2 separate regions of the Homo sapiens genome follow, and region 1 is linked to region 2. Evidence: promoter capture Hi-C in 16 types of primary human blood cells and fetal thymus (Javierre and others, 2016). All regions are on one chromosome and are shown on one strand. Each heading gives the region's core, a stretch centred on a gene start or on the middle of the fragment in contact. The rest is flanking DNA. Distances are from core to core; before and after follow the strand shown.

Region 1 (4,381 bases), core at 1,255-3,754, 2.2 Mb after region 2:
TGAGCCACTCTGATTGCTGCCTCCATGGTCACATGACTGTCTCTTTGTCTGAATTTCCTGTTCCTGTAAGGACACCAGCCATTGGATAACGACCCACCCTAATCCAGTATGACCTCATCTTAACTAGATTACATCTGTAAAGACTATTTCCAAATAAGGTCACACTCACAGGTTCCTGGGGTTAGGACTTGAACATATCTCCTGGGGGAACATAATTCAACCCACAGCAATGGGTGATACATTTATATTGTTCAATAATCAAGATAATTCCAAAGGTCTATGATAAGAAGTCTCGCTATCGCCCCATCCTCCTACTGCCCCTGACTGCCTTTATTACCTTTTTGCCTACCCTTCCAGCATTCATGTGGGCACACAAAAAGAGAATACATGTTTAGCCGCCCTCACGCAAAGCCAGGACTGTGATACTGTTCCGCACTAGCTTCCTCACTTAACAGCAATATCCCCTACCTTTCCCCATATCTGTACACAAAGAGCTGCTTCTTTCCTTGAGATGGTTGCATAGTATTTTACTATGTGGGTGTATTTGTATTATATATAGCTGGGATCATTGTAGCTTTATACTGCTTTATGTTTTTTTCCCCTTGAGCTTTTGTAGTTTCTGTTATTTTTAGAAAAAGTTGAACTTTTGCAAATGCAAAAAGCTGCCTCCATGGTGGGAAACTCAAGCAAGACATCTGAGTGGCTGGCCCTAGTGCTGCACATGGTGGCCTCAGAGAGGCCAAGGCAGGGGAGCGCTGCTTGACCTCATGACGTAAAGTGCTGGAATGCATTCAGTGCTTTTGGTTACAGCTTTTATTTTTCATCTGCTACCCTAAGTGAGCACCTACTGCCTGCTGGCATGTGTCTAGATTCTGTAGAGTATAAGACCCACAGGACAGAACAAGCAAAGCTCAAACTCATAGGCAAAATGAGACAGATGCACAAAAAAACTACCCTGCCTGGGTAGTGCCTTCTAAGGTCAAGGCCATGAGGGACTTGCGGAGAGTCCTCATGGTGCTTGTTAAGATGCAGATTACCAGGCCCCACCCTAGACTCACTGAATTAGAATCTCTGGAGGTAGGGCCTAGGAATCTATTTTCAGATGACCTCTCCAGGTTGTGATAAGTAAATGGTTAATTGTTAGATTTTTTTTTTTTTTGGCACACAGGTAGCACTGAGAACAGCTACCATTTATTGAGGTCTCTGCTCAGCTGACATCAAACAAGATGCCCCATGTTTGTTACCCATCGTCAATACCGCAGGCTGAACCATGTGGTGTTCCATGGTGGAGACACAGAGGCTTTACGCCATGAGGCCAAGCAGGGCTGCCTGCCCCGGCCTCTCTGAGGCCACCGTGTGCAGCACCAGGGCCAGCCACTCATTTGCCTTGCTTGAATTCCCACCGTGGAGGCAACAGATAGAATTTCTGGAAGAAGCTTCAGGCTCGAGCACCTTCTTTGACGTCTCCATAGCCTCTCAAACTCTGAGAAGCTCCAGGAAGAGGCACAGGCAGAGTCCTCTTCTATCCAGGTTAAATAAGTTGTTTTGCCTTTCTTATGTGAACTTAACAATATTGGCCCCTCCCAAGAAGGCCTTATCTCAATCTCAAGCCAGTTTTGTGAGTTCTACTGCACTTGGGCATTTTTGGTTCTGGTGTCTGTAGTAAAATTTGCTGAAAGTGAATATATTCAGAAGTCTAAAAGAAATGGTCAAAAATCTGATTTCTGGCTGGGTGCAGTGGCTCATGCTTATAATCTCAGCACTTTGGGGGGCTGAGGCAGGAGGATAGCTTGAGCCCAGAACTTTGAGAAAAGCCCAGGCAACATAGTGAGACCTGGTCTCTACAAAAACAAACAAACAAACAAAAGTTTAGCTGGGTGTGGTGGCATACCTGTAGTCCCAAGTACTCAGGAAGCTGAGGTCGGAGGATCACCTGAGCCAAGGAGGTCGAGGCTACGGTGAGCTATGATTGTGCCACTGCACTCCAGCCTGAGTGATAGAGTGAGACCCTCTCTCAAAAAAAAAAAAAAAAAAAAAAAAAATCAGAATTCTGATTTCTGCTTAAAACTGCCACACAGAGAGATTTCATGTGCCAGAATGCATACTAACTCTAATTTTTGGCAAACCAACATACATATGAGATTACTTTTGACCATGTAGAATTATGACTGAGAAATGAGGTTTATAAAAATACGTAAGCTAAAACAGCAACTCAAAGAACTGAAAAAGAAATACGTAAGCATTGTCTGGGAGCTGTTTTCCCCTTCCCTGTTTTTCCTCTGTAACAATCTCAAGGCAGCATTCATCTCTGTCAGGCTCATTTACATTTTCGATAGAAATACTTATTTTTTTCTTTAGGAAACATGAAGGTTTAAGAACCAGTAAAAATGGTACCATAATTGTCCTCTATTTTATTCACATGCTGCCAGGGGGACTTAGTTGCGATGTGATTTAAATGACTAAGAATTTTATTAGAGGTGCCTGTGATGAAGGGCATTTATGTGAAATCTAACGAGCATGGGGGTGAGGTGGGGCAACTGTTCAGTAATAAATAATGCAGCAGACCTAAAACAAATGAGAGAACCACTTCTGGAGGGAAGAGACACATCACCATCTCCGTTCAAAGAGCTTGTCTCATTGTGTTCCAGAGCCTGGCCAAGCTGACCGATAGCTTCAAGAACAGCTGCTCCGTTACCGACTCTCTAGTGGACTTCCCTCACCATGTAGGCGTGCCTGGCGATGCTGGTGTACCCCAGCAGTTCTGCGATGCCGGCTCCCAGACTGATATCATCGGGGAGGTATATGCGCGCCCAGGGGGAGAAATGCACCGGGAGAGGGGAGGGCTGCTTCAGTGTTGCCATCACTGGTTTGGTGTAATTTTCCATGTTCACTTAAGAAATGCCTTCACTTTTGTGCCATTAAGTTTGAAGAAAAAGTGTTGTGTCTCACATCCAGCTGTGTGATACAATTGAATTGCTTATTACTGCTGCCCTTATGATTTGGACTCTTATAAATGACATACTCCTTGTGAGAGTTGAGTTTCACTGTTCTTTTGACAGACATATCACTTTTTAGAGCATGAGTCCCCACGCTTTTTCTGTGAAGGGCCAGATAGTAAATATAGTCACTATTTTAGGCTTTGCAGGTAGTTCTGCTGGAACTGCCCCACCCTGTCATTGTAGTGTACATGCAGCCATAACAGAGATGCCTTGCAAGCATGTAAGACTGGGGCCTCGAGCTGCTCAAACGTTCACTTACGGAACAGCCAGTGGGCTGGATTTGGCCCCAGGGCCATAGTTACTGATTCCTGCCTTAGACCACTGATTTCCAAAGGCTTTATAGCTGTGCCACCTTGGGTGTTACTTTATTGCTGTTTCTTACTCTTCTAAAAGAATGTCAGGAAATTGAATTGAACTAAAAGTCATTTTTGTTTGAGACTTGGAAGAATGTCATAATGCCTCCTTTGTTAATTAGCGAAGCCTTGAGTTAGCCACAAAAACAAAGTTGGGAAAATCACCATTTGAAGCAGGATGGTGGATATTCAAAGACGCTAGTATTGTAATATCATTGAGTGAAGCTTGACATTAATTTGTTACCAAATGGAAAAACAGTTTAAAGAGCTTCTTTTTTTTTTTTTAAGGATTATTAAGTAAAGATGAGGTATCAATGGAATGCACAGTGCCACCCCTCCCCCGAAATTAAATAAATAAAAGGAAAGCAACAAAAGGAGGAAAAAACAATTGATGGAAAACTCTGGGTTTTAAATAATTAGCTAATTAATATTTTGAAATCTTAGCAACTAGTGCCTCTTCGAGTGGAGTATAATGTAGGAAATCACGGCCCTTTATGTCTTGGGTGTCCTGGAACAGTCCTATTTTCAAATTTGCCTGCGTTGTTCCAAACGTACACTTGGCCGTTTTTGACTAGGCATCTTCTTTGGATGAAAGAATATGGTCGCCATCTGTAACACACAGAGGAGAATCTGTAATTCAAAAATGTTTGGCATTTTTGCGTAAAGATTTTGGAGCGAGAGAAGGAAACAAGTGTAAGACTCATTGAATTCGTGAATAATTCATTGCTGCTTATTGTAAGGTTAGAATTAGAATTTAGTTTGAGAGAAACAGTTAAGATAGAAGGTTCTCCAGTGATTTAGGTCAACCCTTCTAAAAATGTCAGGTGAGGAGTGGTGGCTGGTTATGCTACTTGAGCAGTCACTGCTCATTGTTGATAAGCTCCTGAAGTTTACCGGGGCTGACCCTAGGTCAGCAATCTCATAGCTGTTATCTCAGTTTAAGTAGTTGTTCCCATCCTGTGTGATGTGCAGGAGACCGAGATGCCAGGTTACCTAAGGTCTTGTAGCTGAGGAGAGGCAGGTCTGGTT
Region 2 (4,174 bases), core at 71-2,570:
TGCAAATGATAGGTTGATGTGCTTCATTCTAGCTGTAGCACTGGCAATACAAAAAACAAAAATGCTGTAAGTTGGAATAGTTTATCCCACATACTGTGTAGTCTTATGTTGATCATCGTTCCAAGGCTTTCTTCTAACATCATTCTCTGTTTTAAGCACAGTGGTTTCAATTAATTCTAATTAAACACAAGAATCTTTCAAGGAAACCCTTTCTTTCCCTCCTCACCTTGACCCAAGTCTTATACATTAAAACAAAACAAAACAAAAACATTCCACATTTATTCGGTACATAGATTATGAATCTACGATTTAATTACTTGGCAGGAAACAGACGTATAAATTCCAGTTGACAAGGGCATTTGGTCTTTTCTCTTGACCCTTTGAAACGTTTTGCGGGTGGGGGCGGCACTACCATTATGAAACAGAAAATTATTAGAGACCGTATCAAATTCCAAATGAACAATACATTTGTTCTTGGTAAGTGTATCAGAAGATTTCAAATACAGTTCCCTACTCCCCTTCCCAATTTCTATTGTGAGCACCCATGCTTTTATGAACGCCAATACAATTACTCAGTAACGCAATAAGCAATCACTCAACAATGCAATACATTTCTTTGCCAAGTATCTCAACACAAACTGAGGTCATGCCTGGTGAAGGCAATTTAAGGCTCTATGAAATGTCAGCCACGCCACTTTATACTTGGAACACATCTAAATACAAAATTACATGTTTTCCTATGCCTCAGTGCGCACAATTTGCCCAAGTGAATGAAATTGTGCCTCCACAAGGCTGTCCATTCTGAAGGTCTCAGGGTTTCCTTGGGGGCCCAAGGGCCCCATTCAGGGACCCCAAGATGAGGCACATTACAGGGCCTCGAATTTAGGGACCTAAGACCGCCTGTTCCTGATGCACCCGGCCAGGCCCTGTGAGGGCAGGTGGCTCGGCCGCCGCAGGCTGCGCTGGCGTCCGCGTAGGCTGAGTCCCAGTCATCGATCCGGGGTCAAGCCCCAGTTTTGATTCCACTTCTGCAAATGGGGACGGGAAGGGGGTTGGGTGTGTAGCAACCAGGCGGCCAGGCCCAGCCAGCACAGGCTCAGTGCCCTCCCGCGGCTTGGAGGCCGGCAGGGCCGGGGTGGTCCCCGCATCAGTCCCGCAGGAGCACACCCTTGCTGGGCCCCAGGGCTCCGTACCAATGCAGCCCCGGGACACTTCCGTGTTGAACGAGTCCCTTTAACCAGATGGCGGGGCCGGGCCGTCACTCAACGCCATTCCGCCACCAAGGCCGCGCTACGCTCTCCGCGAGCCGGCCCAGGAAAGTCCTGCGGCAGGGGTTGGTACCGCCTCCCGCGCAGGTATGTGACGTCATCGCGCCGACGAAGGCGCCCGCTAGGCCCCGCCTGCTCTATTTAAACTTCTGGACTCAACCTGGCCGCTAGACCGGAGCGTCCTCCAGCGCAGGCAAGGATTCCTCGTTTAGAGTCATGTTATCTTCGAGTACCTAGAGAGACATTTTAACCCACACCCTAGAGAGGCGTTGTAATCCTTACGTGTCTTTTAACGCTACTTGGCCCTTACCTGCGAGCAACTGACCTTTAATAATCCTCATTTTCTGTGCCCCGGAAGTGCCTTACCCTCTTCGCGTCTGTTTCCCGGAAGTGGTTCTTCTCCCTCTCCACCCTTTCGCCCGCCTGGGCGGTCCAGCTGCCCCTAGGGGCCAACTCCAGCGGCTATTTTGGGGCTGGACATCCCGCAGCTTTTCAAGGCGTGCCTTTGGTTTTTTTAAGAAGTGCTATCTAAAGGAAAAGCTGGACTATGACTCTGGGGAACTTTCATATCCTCAGTTGACCTTAGGCTGTGTGACCTTGAGCAGGTAGCATAACCTCTCTGAGTTTCCCGCGTGCCTTATGTGCAGATTGAGATGCTAAAATGAGAGAGCTAAATTGGAAAGCTTTTTCCACATAGGGGGCCGTGAGCAGGTGGCTGTTTTGTCCTCTGGCACCTTTGGCTCAGACTTAAGCAGCTTCAACGACCGCCAAGATGCCTGCCATGCCCACCAAGATTTAAAGGACTCTGATAATTCTTTCTCTCCCCAAACGGTGTTTTCCTTATCTAATCCTAATAACCAAGCCTGGAGGAATCCCTGACTTCGTGATTGAAGGCTCTCCAGGTCCCCTAGTTTAAGGGCAGAGATTTACTTTCTCTGAGGCTACAAAGGAGCGTCTGCGAGAATGTCTCTACCTTAGACAAAACAGGGAGGAGGGGTGGAGCTCTCCAAATTGCCTCTGGTTTGGGCTTTTTCTTTCTGTTTTGGTGTATCGTCTCTGGCCAACAACACCTGTGAGTCCTTGATGTGACGATTAGGGAAGATGTTTTTAATTCACATAACTATTCTTTAGAGAAAATTGATCCTGAAACACCTTATTGCCTTATCGTAGAATGACTGCATTACTCAGAATTCTTTACCTCTACCGGAATTTAGTGAAGGGAAGGCACAACGTACATTAGGAAAATACAGGACACACTCCAGTCCTTAAACCTTCCACAATCTTCTAGCTCTTTAAGGTCGAGTGTGATCCTCCCCAGAACTGCATCTTCCAGGAAGCTCATGAGAAAGGAAGGATCCCAGGTCCCATCTCTGATCTGAGTCGGCATCTGCGTTTTAACAGAATCCTGAAGCAGTGGTCTAACTCCTTTGGTGGTGTTATTGTTTGCATGTATACCTCCAAAATTCACATATTGAAATACTAACCCCCAAGGTGATAGTATTAGGAGGTGGGGCCTTTGGGAGGTAATTAAGTCATGAGGGTGAAGCCCTCATGAATGGGATTAGTACTCTTAGAAAAGGGACCCCAGAGAGGTCTCTTTCCACCATGTAAGGATAAAAGTACACGGAGAAGATGGCAATCTGCAAACTGGAAAAGGGCCCTCCTCAGAACCTGACCATCTTGGCACCTTGATCTCAGACTTCCATCTTCCAGAACTGTGAGAAATAAATTTCTTTTATAAACACTCAGTCAATGCTACTTTATTATAGCAGCCTGAATGGATTAAGACAGGTGGTCTGGTTTAAAGTGATGTGGTGGCATCAGAAGTTTAAGGAGAGACTGGATTTACAGAACCAGAATCTGGGATGCTGTTTACAGAGCAAGTTATTTCCTGCATTTGGACACTGTCAGCAGGTCGATTCAGGAGACAGGTGAAAACTTTATCACCGGGCAGCCTGGATGAACACCACAACTTTGATATCTTTCACTTAAAGGAAAGATAAGGGCATCCACTATTTCTACACCTGGCTGGCAGAGTGAGAGCTCACCAAAGGTAAGTCTCTTTGGAGCAGCAAAATGCTCCATAATTTAACTCTTAAAATTTTAAATTTATTTCCTCCTTACTCCCTTCAATCCCGTATCATATCTCCATGTAACTAGTTAAAAGTTCAGCTCTCAGCTGGGTGAGGTGGCATGTGCCTGTAGTCTCAGCCACTCAGGAAGCTGAGGTGGGAGGATTGCTTGAACCTAGGAGTTCATCTTCAGCCAGAGCAATGTAGTGAGACCTCATCTCTAAAGAAAAAACAAAAAACAAAAAAAGTTCAGCTTTCTAATGTAAGGAAGGATATATTCATTCACATTTGTCTTTGTCATCTCATCGCCAAGCTTAGCACTTGGCCCATAGTATATGATCAATAAATATTTGTTTTGGATGTTGGATTTATGTAAATTACCATTGTGATCTGAATATATAGTAATTTAATTGCTCTTTGAAACTTTTTTTTCTGTAATTAATTTGCTTATTTTTGCTCGTCTATTTTCCTTAGTAATTTAGTTTCAAACGGGTTTGTTTATTTAGCCATTTACGTAATTATTAATCATCTGTTGTATAGCAAGTGTTACGTTGGTACAGGGCATACACAGTTGAAAGAATTCAGCCCTTATCAGGGATGCAGAGTCCAGTGGATAGGGAGACATCTGATGTGTAATTACAGAGGCGTGATGATGTGGTATTGCAAAGCCATGCACAGATGCCCTGGTTGTGCACACCAGCTACGGAGTAGGAAACCTTTAGCTTCGGGAGGTGCCTACAGTAGCACCCAGCACAGAAACAAAATGCCCCAGCTTGATGGCTCCTTTTCCTCTCCAGTGCTTCCTCTCAGGAGATTTTATCCTGTATCCCATAA

The links. The method cuts DNA at HindIII sites, captures the fragments that hold promoters and counts their contacts. A CHiCAGO score of 5 or more calls a contact.
Region 1: a contact is called between a fragment that was not itself captured here and the fragment with the promoter of PNPLA4 in region 2, in 1 of 17 cell types (total CD8 T cells). The highest score is 5.2, in total CD8 T cells.

The regions. Positions count from the first base shown.
Region 1 is chrX:10,091,484-10,095,864 of GRCh38, forward strand. It overlaps WWC3 (WWC family member 3), which reads left to right. Exons shown (of 24, transcript NM_015691.5): 8 at 2,649-2,798. Among named protein-coding and RNA genes, the nearest start is that of CLCN4, 63 kb to the right of the region's middle. The HindIII fragment of the contact is 2,141 bases long and covers 1,435-3,575 here.
Region 2 is chrX:7,926,093-7,930,266 of GRCh38, forward strand. It overlaps PNPLA4 (patatin like domain 4, phospholipase and triacylglycerol lipase), which reads right to left and starts at 1,321. Exons shown (of 7, transcript NM_004650.3): 1 at 1,194-1,321; 2 at 1-40. The coding sequence starts at 27. It overlaps LOC107985675 (a long non-coding RNA gene), which reads left to right and starts at 1,408. Exons shown (of 5, transcript XR_001755784.2): 1 at 1,408-3,321. RefSeq lists a silencer at 1-50 and enhancers at 27-76, 739-968, 1,199-1,438, 1,459-1,508, 1,849-1,928. The HindIII fragment of the contact is 3,086 bases long and covers 1-1,949 here.